4 separate regions of the Homo sapiens genome follow, and all the other regions are linked to region 4. Evidence: promoter capture Hi-C in human tissues and cell types (Jung and others, 2019). All regions are on one chromosome and are shown on one strand. The core of a region is centred on a gene start or on the middle of the fragment in contact, and the rest is flanking DNA. Distances in the headings are between cores, read along the strand shown. Region 1 overlaps XRN2 (5'-3' exoribonuclease 2). Region 2 has its middle 30 kb from the start of XRN2. Region 3 has its middle 14 kb from the start of XRN2. Region 4 holds the start of NKX2-2 (NK2 homeobox 2).

The links. Contacts are between HindIII fragments. The study calls those that stand out against the background at their distance.
Region 1: a fragment that was not itself captured here is called in contact with the fragment with the promoter of NKX2-2 in region 4 in 2 of the 25 tissues and cell types used here (heart right ventricle and thymus).
Region 2: a fragment that was not itself captured here is called in contact with the fragment with the promoter of NKX2-2 in region 4 in 3 of the 25 tissues and cell types used here (dorsolateral prefrontal cortex, lymphoblastoid cells and spleen).
Region 3: a contact is called between a fragment that was not itself captured here and the fragment with the promoter of NKX2-2 in region 4, in 5 of the 25 tissues and cell types used here (dorsolateral prefrontal cortex, heart right ventricle, lymphoblastoid cells and 2 more).

What each region holds. Positions count from the first base shown.
Region 1 is chr20:21,318,926-21,322,239 of GRCh38, reverse strand. The region is part of intron 1 of XRN2 (5'-3' exoribonuclease 2); the gene reads right to left. Among named protein-coding and RNA genes, the nearest start is that of XRN2, 17 kb to the right of the region's middle. The HindIII fragment of the contact is 8,876 bases long and covers 1-3,314 here.
Region 2 is chr20:21,271,720-21,275,039 of GRCh38, reverse strand. No RefSeq gene overlaps it. Among named protein-coding and RNA genes, the nearest start is that of XRN2, 30 kb to the left of the region's middle. RefSeq lists enhancers at 2,042-2,091, 2,152-2,201, 2,212-2,261. The HindIII fragment of the contact is 3,627 bases long and covers 1-3,320 here.
Region 3 is chr20:21,288,130-21,291,268 of GRCh38, reverse strand. No RefSeq gene overlaps it. Among named protein-coding and RNA genes, the nearest start is that of XRN2, 14 kb to the left of the region's middle. The HindIII fragment of the contact is 9,345 bases long and covers 1-3,139 here.
Region 4 is chr20:21,512,355-21,515,394 of GRCh38, reverse strand. It overlaps NKX2-2 (NK2 homeobox 2), which reads left to right and starts at 1,331. Exons shown (of 2, transcript NM_002509.4): 1 at 1,331-1,984; 2 at 2,910-3,040. The coding sequence starts at 1,726. The HindIII fragment of the contact is 15,862 bases long and covers 1-3,040 here.

The DNA of each region.
Region 1 (3,314 bases), core at 618-3,117, 190 kb after region 4:
GTGAATGAGGACTAATAATTACCACTAGCATTTACGGAGCACTTAACGTGATAAGCACTGTTACAAGGGCTTTTACTCATGGATTATTCCATTCTATCCTCACAACAACCTTGTGAGGTCTGGAGTATCCCACTTACAATTAAGAACACAAATGCTTAGAGAGGTTAAGTGGCTTTTCCAAAGTCACACTACTATAGATTCAGGAACTAGGATTTAAAACCATGACTCAGAGATGGTACCTTAACCAGTATGTTAGACTAATTAATTGTAATTTCACTAGATTCAAAGTGATGTGTACCAAGGTCTATATCAGGTACTACAGAGGATACAAAATAGGCAAGGTGTGTGACATTGATCATCATTTGCTAAATAAAGTCTTATCAGAAGATTTTATTCTAACATGACAGCATGAAGAGCTTCAACGACCTGCTCCCCAGTGAAACTGGTAAATATTACTTTTAAAACAAAAACATTTAAAGCCTTTGGAAATGATCCTGAGGGCAAACAGCAAGCAAATCAAGAAAACCTGTAAAAATTTTAGAACAAAATTCATTTGCAAAAGTGCACAGTAAAGTTTAAAAAACAAACAAAAAAAAGCTGTTCTCAAGAACAGTGAAAGTAGAATGAGGCCCAGTGGCTCATGCCTGTAATCAGCATTTTGGGAGGCTGAAGCGGGAGAATCACTTGCACCCAGGAGTTCAAGGCCAGCCTGGGGAACATAAGAGTCCTGGAGCCCCATCAAGAATCAGGAAGGTACAGTGGCATGTACCTGTAGTCCCAGCTACCTAGGAGATTAAGGCAGAGGTCTGCATGAGCCCAGGAGTTGGAAACTACAGTGAGCTGATTGTGCCACTACTGCACTATAGCCTAGGTGACAAAATGAGACCCTACACACACACACACACACACACACACACACACACACACACACACACACAGCCAGGCACAGTGGCTCATAACTATAATCAGAGCAATTCGGGACACCGAGACAGAGCACTTGAGCCCAGGAGTTTGGGATCAGCCTAGGCAATATGGTGAAACCTCATCTCTACAAAAAATTAGCCAGGTGTGATAGCATACCTGTAATCCCAGCTTACTCAGGAGGCTGAGGTGGGAGAATCACCTGAGCCCCGGAAGTTGAGGATGCAGTGGGCCAAGATCGCACTACTGCACTCCAGCCTGGGCAACAGAGTGAGACCCTGTCTCAAATACAAAGAAACAAACCAAAACAGTGCAAGCTATGGTGAAGAGCAACTGGGAGGAGACTAATAGATCTAATGAAGATACAGGCCTGGACTACAGGCTAGTTTGCAGAAGAAAACTCGGGATTAAGATGGCTGGGAGGAGCCCTCCTGGTGTTAGCACAAATACCAAACACTGACGTCAGAAACTAATTCCTGGAAAGATCTACAATTTAGGAGTTCGAGATCAGCCTGGCCAACATGGTGAAACCCCGTCTCTACTAAAAATACAAAAAATTAGCCAGGTGTGGTGGTGCATGCCTGTAGCCCCAGCTACTCGGGAGGCTGAGGCAGGAGAATCGCTTGAACCCGGGAGATGGAGGTTACAGTGAGCCAAGATCACGCCACTGCACTCCAACCTGGGTGACAGCAAGACTCCATCTCAAAAATAAATAAATAAGGCCGGGCGTGGTGGCTCACGCCTGTAATCCCAGCACTTTGGGAGGCCAAGTCAGGCCGATCACGATGTCAGGAGATCGAGACCATCCTGGCTAGCACGCTGAAACCCTGTCTCTACTAAAAATACAAAAAATTAGCCGGATGTGGTGGCAGGCGCCCGTAGTGCCAGCTACTCAGGAGGCTGAGGCAGGAGAATGGCGTGAACCCGGGAGGTGGAGCTTGCAGTAAGCCGAGATCGTGCCACTGCACTCCAGCCTGGGTGACACAGCAAGACTCCGTCTCAAAATAAATAAATAAATAAATACATAAATAAATAAATACATAAATAAATAAATGATGCCAATAGGTAGTGGGATAACATAAAAAGCAGTAAAGAAGTGGAAACAAACAAACAACAACAAAAGAACCCTGTCAACCAAGAATTCTCAGTCCAGAAAAGCTATAGTGCAAAACTGGGGTGACATAAAGACTCAGATCAATAAAAAGCTGAGAGAATTATTGCTAACAGACCACACTGTCAAAAACTACTAAACGAAGTTCTTCAAGCTATAAAGTTACAAAAAGTTTACTAAAGTTACTAAAGCAAGTGACTCTAGATGGTAATTCAAGTCCATGCAAACAATAAGCACAAGTATATTTTCCCTCCTTTCTTCTCTTAATTGAATTAAAAAGCAATTGTATAAATATTACATAGTATAATGTTGAGCTTATAAGGCAGAATGTAATATATGTGTAATATATTTGCCCTAATAGCAAAAAGGGGTGGATGGAAACAAAGTTGCAGTGGGCTAAGGAAATGGCTACAGACGGTAAAGTAACTCTTAAAAAAATGTATTGTTGGATTATGTCAATATATGTAATATATATAACAATAATATACAAAGGGGGGATGGGAACTGAACTATATAGCAGTAAAGTTCAATAAATTTTAGCATGTATTACTGAAACTAAGCAAGTATAAATCTGAATTTGATTCTAGCAAGATACATAGGGTAAGCTCTAGAACAATGACTTTGAAAAAATATATAGTGGAAAAAATTACTAATGAATTTAGAATCCTTCTAGTAACTGGCCACTGAATAAGAAAAGAAAAAAATTTGAATGCTATATTAGAAAATATCCTCTCATTGCAAAAGAAAGCACAAAGGAGAAATAGAGAAAAATGACATGAGACATACAAAAAACAAAAAGTAAAATGTAACTCTATCAATAATTACATTAAAATGTGAATGGATCAAACAATCCAACAAAAAGGTAGCTTGTCAAAGTGGATTTTAAAAACATGATCTAACTCTGCGTTATCTACAGGAGATACACTTGAGATTCAAAGACCCAAAAGAGTAAAAGTAAATGGATGAGAAAAGATAATCATGCAGACAGCAACCACAAGAAAACTGGAGTGGCTATACTGATATCAGATAAAACAGACTAAAACAAATAAAAAAATGTTACTGGAGGTAAAGAGGGTCATTTTATAACGATAAAAAGTAAATCCATCAAGAAAAAGATATAACAATTAAAAATACAGGTGCACCTAATAACAGCACCAAAATACACAAAACAAGACATATGGCAATTCAACAATGATAGCTGGAGACTTCAATACTCCCCCTTCAATAATAGAACAAAACAGAAGATCAACATGAAAACAGATAATTTGAACAACACTATCAA
Region 2 (3,320 bases), core at 404-2,903, 240 kb after region 4:
GTCAAGCATTAGTATTTCCTGGGAACTTGTAGGAAATATTCATATTCTCAGGCCCCAAACCTGACTTCTGGATTGGAATCTCTGGGGTGGGTCCCAGGGATCCAGGTTTTAATATGCTCTCCAGGAGATCCCAATGTCACTCAAGTTTGGGAACTGCTGCTCAAAAAATTGTGGCAGAGTCAGGGCTGCACCCTCTAACAAGCCAGCCGGCGTCCCAGCATGCAGCCAGCCAGGGATCTGGAAAGGGAAGCATCTTCTACCATGGGGACTGGGACTGTTCCTGCTTCAGGTCTTGGCCACTCCCAGGTTTGCCCAGAGCCAAGTGTTCAGGTGACCCAGGACCTGCAGGAGAAATCACCAAGAAGAGGTTATGTGCACAGAAAATTCACACTGGATGGGGCAAGCCAAGATGAGTGACTATCTGCTGTCTCCAGTGGTTCCCCATGCTACACCTGATTCTGTTTTCAGAGCCATCTTCTTGGGATATTGGTTCTTCGCCTGATTATGTCTCATCTGACAGGTGAGGAGGCAGGGAATTCAAAGCAAACAACTATGCAAAGCCCCACAGAACATCCTTTTGGGGAGAGGGTCAAGGGCTCAGGGATGGTGGGTGGGGGCAAAGAGGGAGGAGCTTCTCCTGGACCCCCACCCCACAGTGGGAATGTGGCCACCTCAGAACTTATGTTTATAACCACTAAGTTGGCCATGATCCCAAACTGCAGCTATAATAATATTTGATATCTATTTTGAAATCTCAGAACAAAGCTTTGGCTGCCCTAGAAAAGGGACTGGCTGTGTTCAGCAGATGGAGGCTGAGTTAGCATGGAGGGGTCAGGAGTGGTCACAGACAAGCCTTGTGATCAAGCTATGCAAATAGGCACCCATGTGCTATTCTGGACTCAGGGCCAACATCATTTCCCATTTTCTGAAAAGAGAGCCTTGGAATGACTTTCACCTTAGCCTCTTTAGGAAATTAAAGCCTGGAGCTGTGACGAATGCCTTTCTGACCAGGGCAGCACAGGCAGCGTAAAGATCTACGCGCTTCTTATTTAATGATGAGCTCAGGCCAAGATCAGCCTTCAAGGGGAAACCACTGCGTCTCCTTTCTGCTCACTCCAGAGCAGGGCTTGAGAGTCCTACTGGGCTGAGAGGCTCTTCAAGGATCTCAAGTTTACCCAGCAGAGATGATATTGACCTTCCGTTTTTAATCAATGGTTCGTCCCCTGAGGCCACACAGAAGATGGAGACTGCAATCTGTCCTTTCGCCTTCTTTTTTCTAAGTCCTTTCCCAGGTCTGACAATGCTGTTTCCTTGGGAAAAAATAGGTAAACATTTACATCAGACTCCCAAGGTCCTAGTTATAGCCAGTGGGGTCCCACAGCCTTCTGTTTTCTTATGGTCTCCTGGGGGAGAGCATGGAGGAGGGGAGCCATCTAAACCAAGGGTCATAGTTCCTTTCCCTCCTTAGAGGACTGGCAGAATGGGGACTCACAACATAAAAGGATTGAGATCACCGTCAACCTTTGCATATCTTTGTGAACAGTTTAACGTTTATTACAGTAAAATAATGACTTTCACACCATGTAAAGGCAGTATAAACTCACCAGTAACCTTCAGCATCCTCCCCTGCGATGTCAATAAGAAGCTTGTGAATTTACTCAGCTTGGGAGCAGATAATGCCCAAACCAAGGAGAATTAGTGTGTGTATGCCCGGTTCTTCATGCAAACAAAAAATTGATTTCAATGCCATGACTAGCGTTTCTAGACTCACATATCCTGGACTCCTCTGGGTTTCTGGAAATGTCCTACTGCCTCTTCCACCAACAGGGGCAGGAAAGGCCTGTGTTGAGTTACTATCCCTCTCTCCTGATACTGCGCTGCAAAAACTGTTTTACTTTCCTCTTCCCTTCTCCCACTCCAGGTCTCACTCCTTCTAAGCAACACCCTGCAGAGTGATGCATCTCTACCCAGAAAAGGTCCACTGAAGGAACCAGACGTTTCCACAGGAGAAAGGCACAGCATGGAATTACTATACAGAGAAATACATGAGCCATCAAGAAATAAAGTGAGAATGTGGATGAGGCCCATGAAGAAGCCAATATGCCAAACAGTGAGCACACCAGGTGTGTATGTGTGACCAGAAATGAAAACAGTTTCTGTGAAAGCACATTTTAAAATAGACAAGAACAGTTAGAATAGTGTTCGCCACAAGTAAATGACTTTTACTGAAACTTATAACCTGAGAAATAGGTAGAACAGGTGTTGTTCCCAGTTCAGAAAGGAGCAAAGAGTTGCCCAGGTAATAATCACACCATGAGACAAGGTCTGGCTCTGTCACCCCGGCTGGAGTACAGTGGCACTATCACAGCCACTGCAGCCTCAACCTCCTTGGCCCAAGCAATCCTCCCACTTCAGCCTCCTGAGTAGCTGGGATTACAGGCATATGATACCATGCCTGGCTAATTTTTGTATTTTTAGTAGAGATGAGGTTTCACTATGTTGGCCATGCTGGTCTGAAACTCCTGGGCTCAAGCAGTCCTCCCACTTCTGCCTCCTAAAGTGCTGAAATTACAGGTATGAGTCACTACTCCCAGCTGACTTCTAGTGAGGATCTTTTTTCTTTAGTGAAATAAATGCCTTTCAGGAATTCTTCACATTCATGAAAGCCAAATGCAATGAGGAAGCCTTAAGTAGCTCCTTGAGTTAAAAAAAATATGCTAGAATAGAAGATGTTTGTACAAACTGGGAAATGTGAATGGACTATATATTGGATGGCATTCTTGAGTTAGTGTCAATGGTCTTCATGCGATGATAGTGTTGTGACTAGGGAGGGGCCATCCTTGTTCTTTGGAGATGCTGGCTGGGGGACTTAGGCCATAAGGAAAGAAGTGACCACAGAGGAAAGGAGGGTGAAGGCATCAGGGGACCTAGCTGGTCTGCTCAGGACTCCACTCAGCCAGATGGAAAACGCAGTTCTGAATATCTATTGCTGTGTAATAGAGCAGCCCAGAACATGGAGCATAAAAAACAACAATTGCTTCTTTGCTCCAAGTCTGCGCTTCGGGCAGGTGCTCCTCTCTGGTCCTGTGGCATCACCTCTGGTGCTCCAGTGCTGGGGGCTGAAAGGAGTCACTTGCTGTTGCCTGGGTTCCTGGGTTCTCTCCACATGTCCTCTCCATGTGGTGAGCTTGGGCTTCCTCACAGCATGGTTGTCTCGGAGTAGTTGGCCTTCTTACGTGACAGCTGGCTTCCCCTAAAGTGCAAAAATAGAAGCTGCCAGAACTTCACAGGGCTTAGGCCTAGAACCAGTGCTATGTCAC
Region 3 (3,139 bases), core at 174-2,673, 220 kb after region 4:
AGCCATACATGACAGTGCTTCCAGGGCTGCAAATGGACTTAGGCTGGCCCGGTGCTGCTTTTTGCCTGGCTTTCCATGTGGCCAATGACACACAATGACCAACCAAAAGGTCAGGGTTAGGATCAACAGGATCTAGGTTAGGCATCAGCATGGATGTGTGACTCACTACCTTCTTAAGACAAATTTCACAGACATTATCCATCTTGAAATTTTATTTGTCTCTAAGGAGAGCCATACCAAACATGTTTCTAGGATTTTAGAAATCCCCCTTTTCTTTTTATTTATTTTTATTTTACTTTTTTTTTTTTTGAGACGGAGTCTCGCTCTCTCGCCCAGGCTGGCGTACAGTGTTGTGATCTCAGCTCACTGCAGCCTCCCAGGTTCAGGTGATTCTTCTGCCTCAGCCTCCCAAGTAGCTGGGATTACAGGTGTGCGCTACTACGCCCAGCTAATTTTTGTGTTTTTAGTAGAGATAGGGTTTCACCATGTTGGCCAGGCTGGTCTTGAACTCCTGACCTCAGGTGATCCACCCGCCTTGGCCTCCCAAAGTGCTAGGATTATAGATGTGAGCCACCTCGCCCAGGCAGAAATCTTGTTTTTTGAAAGGAGGGGAGTACAGAGGGCATTCTCTCTTCAAAGATTCATTCAACAAACATTTGGTGAGCATCTACTATAAGCAAAGCTTTGTAGGAGATACAAATGTACTGTCTCTGCAGGATGGCTGAGAGTCACTGCCTTTGAAAAGGGAGGAAACCAGCAGAGGCTCTTAGAGAGCCTGAAGAAACTCAGTGGACTGATGTGATTTTAACTGAAGCACAAACTGGAAAATTGGAATGTATGGTTCATGACAATTACAAAGAGAAAGAAAAAGAAAAATGCAACCCATCCCGTCTCATTATTCATTCATTGCTTAAGCAAACAACTTAAATCATCTATTTGGGTGATGCTGAATTTGAATGAAGTCTGTGCCTGTTAGTAGTATCATCATGGGCAAGATTTGGTTCCATAATGTCTCCTGGGCTCAGCTGTGGTTTCTTCAAGGTAATGCTAGTCATGAAGATTAAAACCAGATAGGAGGGGGGTGAGGGGAGAAGAATTATGCATTTTTTAAATCACCGACGGCCAATTTTGCTTAGTAAGACAATGATATCAATTTGAAGGAGAAAATACATTAGGAATTTAGTATACAACGTGTTTAAGCACCATTTCTCATTTCTTCTATTTTTTAAAAACCTGATTTGCACTGTTCTGTGAATCCCCATACTCTTTTCTGAAATGAGTCTTCCACCTGGACTAGTGTGTTTCTTTGTCCTAACACATGTTACTTAAATAGAATCAGTCAATAAACTTGAATAATAACTAAAACAGGGAATGGGACACTTGTATTATGCAAAAATGAGTCATTATCTGGCTATGGTTGACAATGTGGGAGCTGCTTATAGTGTAGAATTTAGTCCAGCACAATAGAAGAATGCCTTAAATTAATGAGTGCTCTCAGAAATGTAACAAAGGTTCCAGTGAATGGCAGGAACACGTTTCTATCTGTTTATCATGGAATCACTTGCTTAAAGAGAACCAGCTTAGAAATCACTACCTTTTACAGAGAGCACGTTAGCCTATGGTTAGAAAAAAAAAAGGGGATATTATGACACCCAAAGATGAGGAATATTTTTATGTGGCTGATCCTACCACAAAAGGTAAAACAAATGACCTAAAACTCCAAAGAAAATGCATTTTCCTTCTGTCTAGTACAAAGACAACCCTCAAAGTGTGAGCCTGACTTTTAACATCCAATTCAGAGTCAATATTGTTTCTGACATCTCATTCATTTCTACCTAACTGCACTGCCAGGCTAGGAACACTCCTTTCCTAAAAGATGCTGCACTTGACGGAGGAGGCAGCCCTGCTGCAGAAGACCGAGAGCCTGGAGCTCTTGCTAGTGACCCATGTCACATGGCCTGCCTTCTAAGCCTGCTGCTGTATGTCCTTGAACGAGCCTCTCATCTTCTTTAGATCCCACTACCCTCACCCAGAAAATGAGGAGCTAAACCGAGTCACCTCTAAGGAGCCTTCCAGCTCTCATGAGTCAGGATGAGATGCTCTCTCCCTTGTCTCAATGCCTGTGACATTGGTGATCTGCATTTAACGCACTGATAACTGTTATTTATCAATGGTCTGATTGCCACTGGTTTTCAGCTATGTAGGCTCCGCCTCCCTTCCTGGAGTTACTCCATTCATTTAATTACCTTCAACAACTCCTGACTAAGCAGCTGATGTGCATCAGATGTGTTTGTAGGTGCTGGGTGGACAGCACAAAGTGCCTGCTCATATAGATTTTACAGTCTTCTTGGGGTGGCAGGTTGGGGGAGAGAGAGACAGCAAACAGGTGGAAAAGACAATATATCATGCTGTGACGGGTTGTGATAGGTGCTACGAACTAAAATAAAACAGGGCAAAGGGACGGGGAGTGACCATAACTGGGGAGTCGAGTGCAGTTGTGCAATCACAGCTCACAGTAGCCTCAACCTCCTGGGCTCAGGCCATCCTGTAGTCCCAGCTACCGAGTAGCTGGGACTACAGGCTTGTACCACCACGCTCGACTACATTTAAAAAAATTTTTTTTTGTAGAGATGAGGTCTTGTTTTGTTGCCCAGGCCGGTCTCGAACTCCTGGGCTCAAGCAATCTTCCTGCCTTAGCCTCCCAAAGTGCTGGGATTTCAGGTATAAGTCACTGTACCTGGCCCATTTTTCTATTTTTATTTATTTATTTATTTAGAGATGGAGTCTCATGCTGTCACCCAGGCTAGAGTGCAGTGGCACAATCTCAGCTCACTGCCACCTCCACATCCCAGGGTCAAGTGATTCTCCTGCCTCAGCCTCCTGAGTAGCTGGGACTACAGGTTCCCACTACCCTGCCTGGCGAATTTTTGTATTTTTAGTAGAGATGGGGTTTCAACATGTTGGCCAAGCTGGTCTCAAACTCCTGACCTCAAGTGATTCACCTGCTTCAGCCTCCCAAACTGCTGGGATTACAGGCATGACCCACCACACCCAGCCCCATTTTTCTATTTTTTAAATTGGAGTGTAACTGACCTACCATATGATGCACAGTTAAGTGTTCAGTTGACAAGCTGTGACA
Region 4 (3,040 bases), core at 82-2,581:
AAGAACTCGCGTGGGAGAAGAAAACTGGGGAGAAAACGAGGCATCGTCGGGCCACCCAGCGACCCCCCTCCCCCGCAGCTTTCTGGGTCTTCACCCAGGCTGGAGACACAACCCCCACCCCCACCCCCGCAATCCCGCCCCGCCGCCTTCCCGCTGCTCCACCTCTAGCCAGAGGCTGGAGAGGGAGGGGGCCGGAGAGGGAGGGATAATAGAGGGCAGGAAAGAGCAGGGCCGTCTGCCCTTTCCTCCACCCGGGGAAAGAGGCCCGCAGAGCCCAGAGGCAGCAGGGCCAGGGTCCGACCCCAGACGAAGTTGGAGCTCCTCACTCTTACCCCGCCCTCCCCGGGACCGCCCGCAAAGCAGAAAGTGAACTGCGCGTCCTCCTTGGCCGCAGAGAGGTGGAGGCGGGGGGTTGGGGGTGGGAGGTGGGGGGAGGCGGAGTGAAGGAAATAAATGAGTCTTTAGCAAATAAAGGGCGGCTGGAAGGGGGCGGGTCGCTTGGTGGTGGCTCTGGCCGGCCCGGAGCGGAGCTCTCTCCTGGGTTTTGGGCTCTCTCGCGGTTAACTGGAATCAATTACTTGCCTTGTCATTTCTAGCACTCATCCTTAAGCCTCAACCAAAATATTGACCTAGGAGGCTTACAGAAGTTGGGCTCTTGCCATTTGAACCGGATCTTGTTTAGGCAACCACCAACGATGGAAAGGAGAGATTTCCGCAGCTCGGCCTTCGCCCCCTCCCCCTTTTCCAAAGGCGCCACAAATCGCCAATTTTCCGGCTTGCCGGGGGTGGGCGCGCGGGGGCGGGGAGGTAGGAACCGGTGAATGTTAAAGAGGATTTTTTCCCTCCTCCTGGTTTCTGTTTTGTTTTCTCCCCTCCTCCTCCCCACCCCCACCTTTTTTAAGATGCAATTTGTTAAAACGGCCCTTTCAAGTGTGTGGACTCGCGAGCGACGCGGTGGCCCTTTGTATGTAAATACTGGGTTTAAAAAAAAAAAGGCTCGCCCCGTCTTTGCAATTAATTGACACGTTACACCTCTCATCTTGCTCTAGAGGGCCGTTGGCTGGGAGCGCGGAGCTCCCCAAAACCCACAATTTCACATCTGCAAATACTGTCTTCATCCACTTGACTCCCAAGACCCGCCCACACGTGGCCAACCTTTGCGTTTTTAATGTCTCTTCCCCCTTTTTTCCACCCTTCTCCCGCTCCCTCTCTCGCTCCCCCTCCCTCCCTCTTTCTTTCCCTCCCTCCCTCTCTTTCTCCCCCTCTCCCCGCCTCCCCAGGTTCGTGAGTGGAGCCCAGCCTTATATGGACTGATCGCTCGGGCAATGGCCCATTTTTTCCTCGCCACCAGCCGCCACCGCGCGCCGAGCGGCCGCCGGAGCCCGAGCTGACGCCGCCTTGGCACCCCTCCTGGAGTTAGAAACTAAGGCCGGGGCCCGCGGCGCTCGGCGCGCAGGCCGCCCGGCTTCCTGCGTCCATTTCCGCGTGCTTTCAAAGAAGACAGAGAGAGGCACTGGGTTGGGCTTCATTTTTTTCCTCCCCATCCCCAGTTTCTTTCTCTTTTTAAAAATAATAATTATCCCAATAATTAAAGCCAATTCCCCCCTCCCCTCCCCCAGTCCCTCCCCCCAACTCCCCCCTCCCCCGCCCGCCGGGGCAGGGGAGCGCCACGAATTGACCAAGTGAAGCTACAACTTTGCGACATAAATTTTGGGGTCTCGAACCATGTCGCTGACCAACACAAAGACGGGGTTTTCGGTCAAGGACATCTTAGACCTGCCGGACACCAACGATGAGGAGGGCTCTGTGGCCGAAGGTCCGGAGGAAGAGAACGAGGGGCCCGAGCCAGCCAAGAGGGCCGGGCCGCTGGGGCAGGGCGCCCTGGACGCGGTGCAGAGCCTGCCCCTGAAGAACCCCTTCTACGACAGCAGCGACAACCCGTACACGCGCTGGCTGGCCAGCACCGAGGGCCTTCAGTACTCCCGTAAGTAGCAAAACTTGGCTGCCGAGGCCGTGGTCCCCTCCATTCCTGCAGCCGCAGCCCGGGTTGGACGCTGGGAGTGAAAGGGGAAGGGGCCATGTAAGCCCGGACCCCCTCACTCGGATCCGTAGAAAGATTTTTAACACCTGTATAGGATGTCCTCTGCCCTCCTCTTCAAGCCTCCTTAGTTCCGGGAAAGAACTTGGTCTCCAAAATTTTTTTCAATGCGAGAAGTTAAGGAGAAAGAGGGAGAAGGGCTATACCTCCCAGGGGCTGGTATATGATGTCAACCCGGACCGATGGCTCCAGCCGCAGCCCCCGGACTCCGGCCGCTGGGAGGGACTGGCCTGGCGCCCTGGAGGTAGCCAGCGAGCCTCGTCCGGGTACGGGTGGAGGGTGGGGAGGCTTCGGGTGGCCCGGGTATAAATAGCTCACCCTGCCCCCTGCGCGATCATAGAGGACGCTTTGTGCAGTGCAGGGGGTGTCTAGAAGGCCCGAAAGCAGAAACGAAAGCCCCCAAAAACCTGCCTTAAATGGCCGAGCCGATCAATGCTGGGATTGTGGGGTATTTCTTTTAAAAATCTGCCCACGTCTCGCCGGAGAGGAAACCGCTTAAGGGCGCCGGAGCCCTTAACCCGCGATGATCTTCAGTGCCACTTCCCCCCCCAAATTCTCACCCACACTATGTGAGCCCCTTGAAAGGCGAGCCCCTAGCCCCCACTCCTACGGATTTCCCTCTTTACCCTGGGAGGTCCCGACGTCTTCGTCAGGCGTAGAGGAAGGCAGGGGTCATGGCAAAGGCAGCGGGGCTGGGCTGCCAGGCGCGGAGGTCCAGGGTCGCACGGAGGATCCAGGGTGCTCCGAGTCTGGTGCAGGCTGCGCGCGGCCTCCAGACGCCTGACGCGCTTCTCTCTCCCCCTCCCCCCAGTGCACGGTCTGGCTGCCGGGGCGCCCCCTCAGGACTCAAGCTCCAAGTCCCCGGAGCCCTCGGCCGACGAGTCACCGGACAATGACAAGGAGACCCCGGGCGGCGGGGGGGACGCCGGCAAGAAGCGAAAG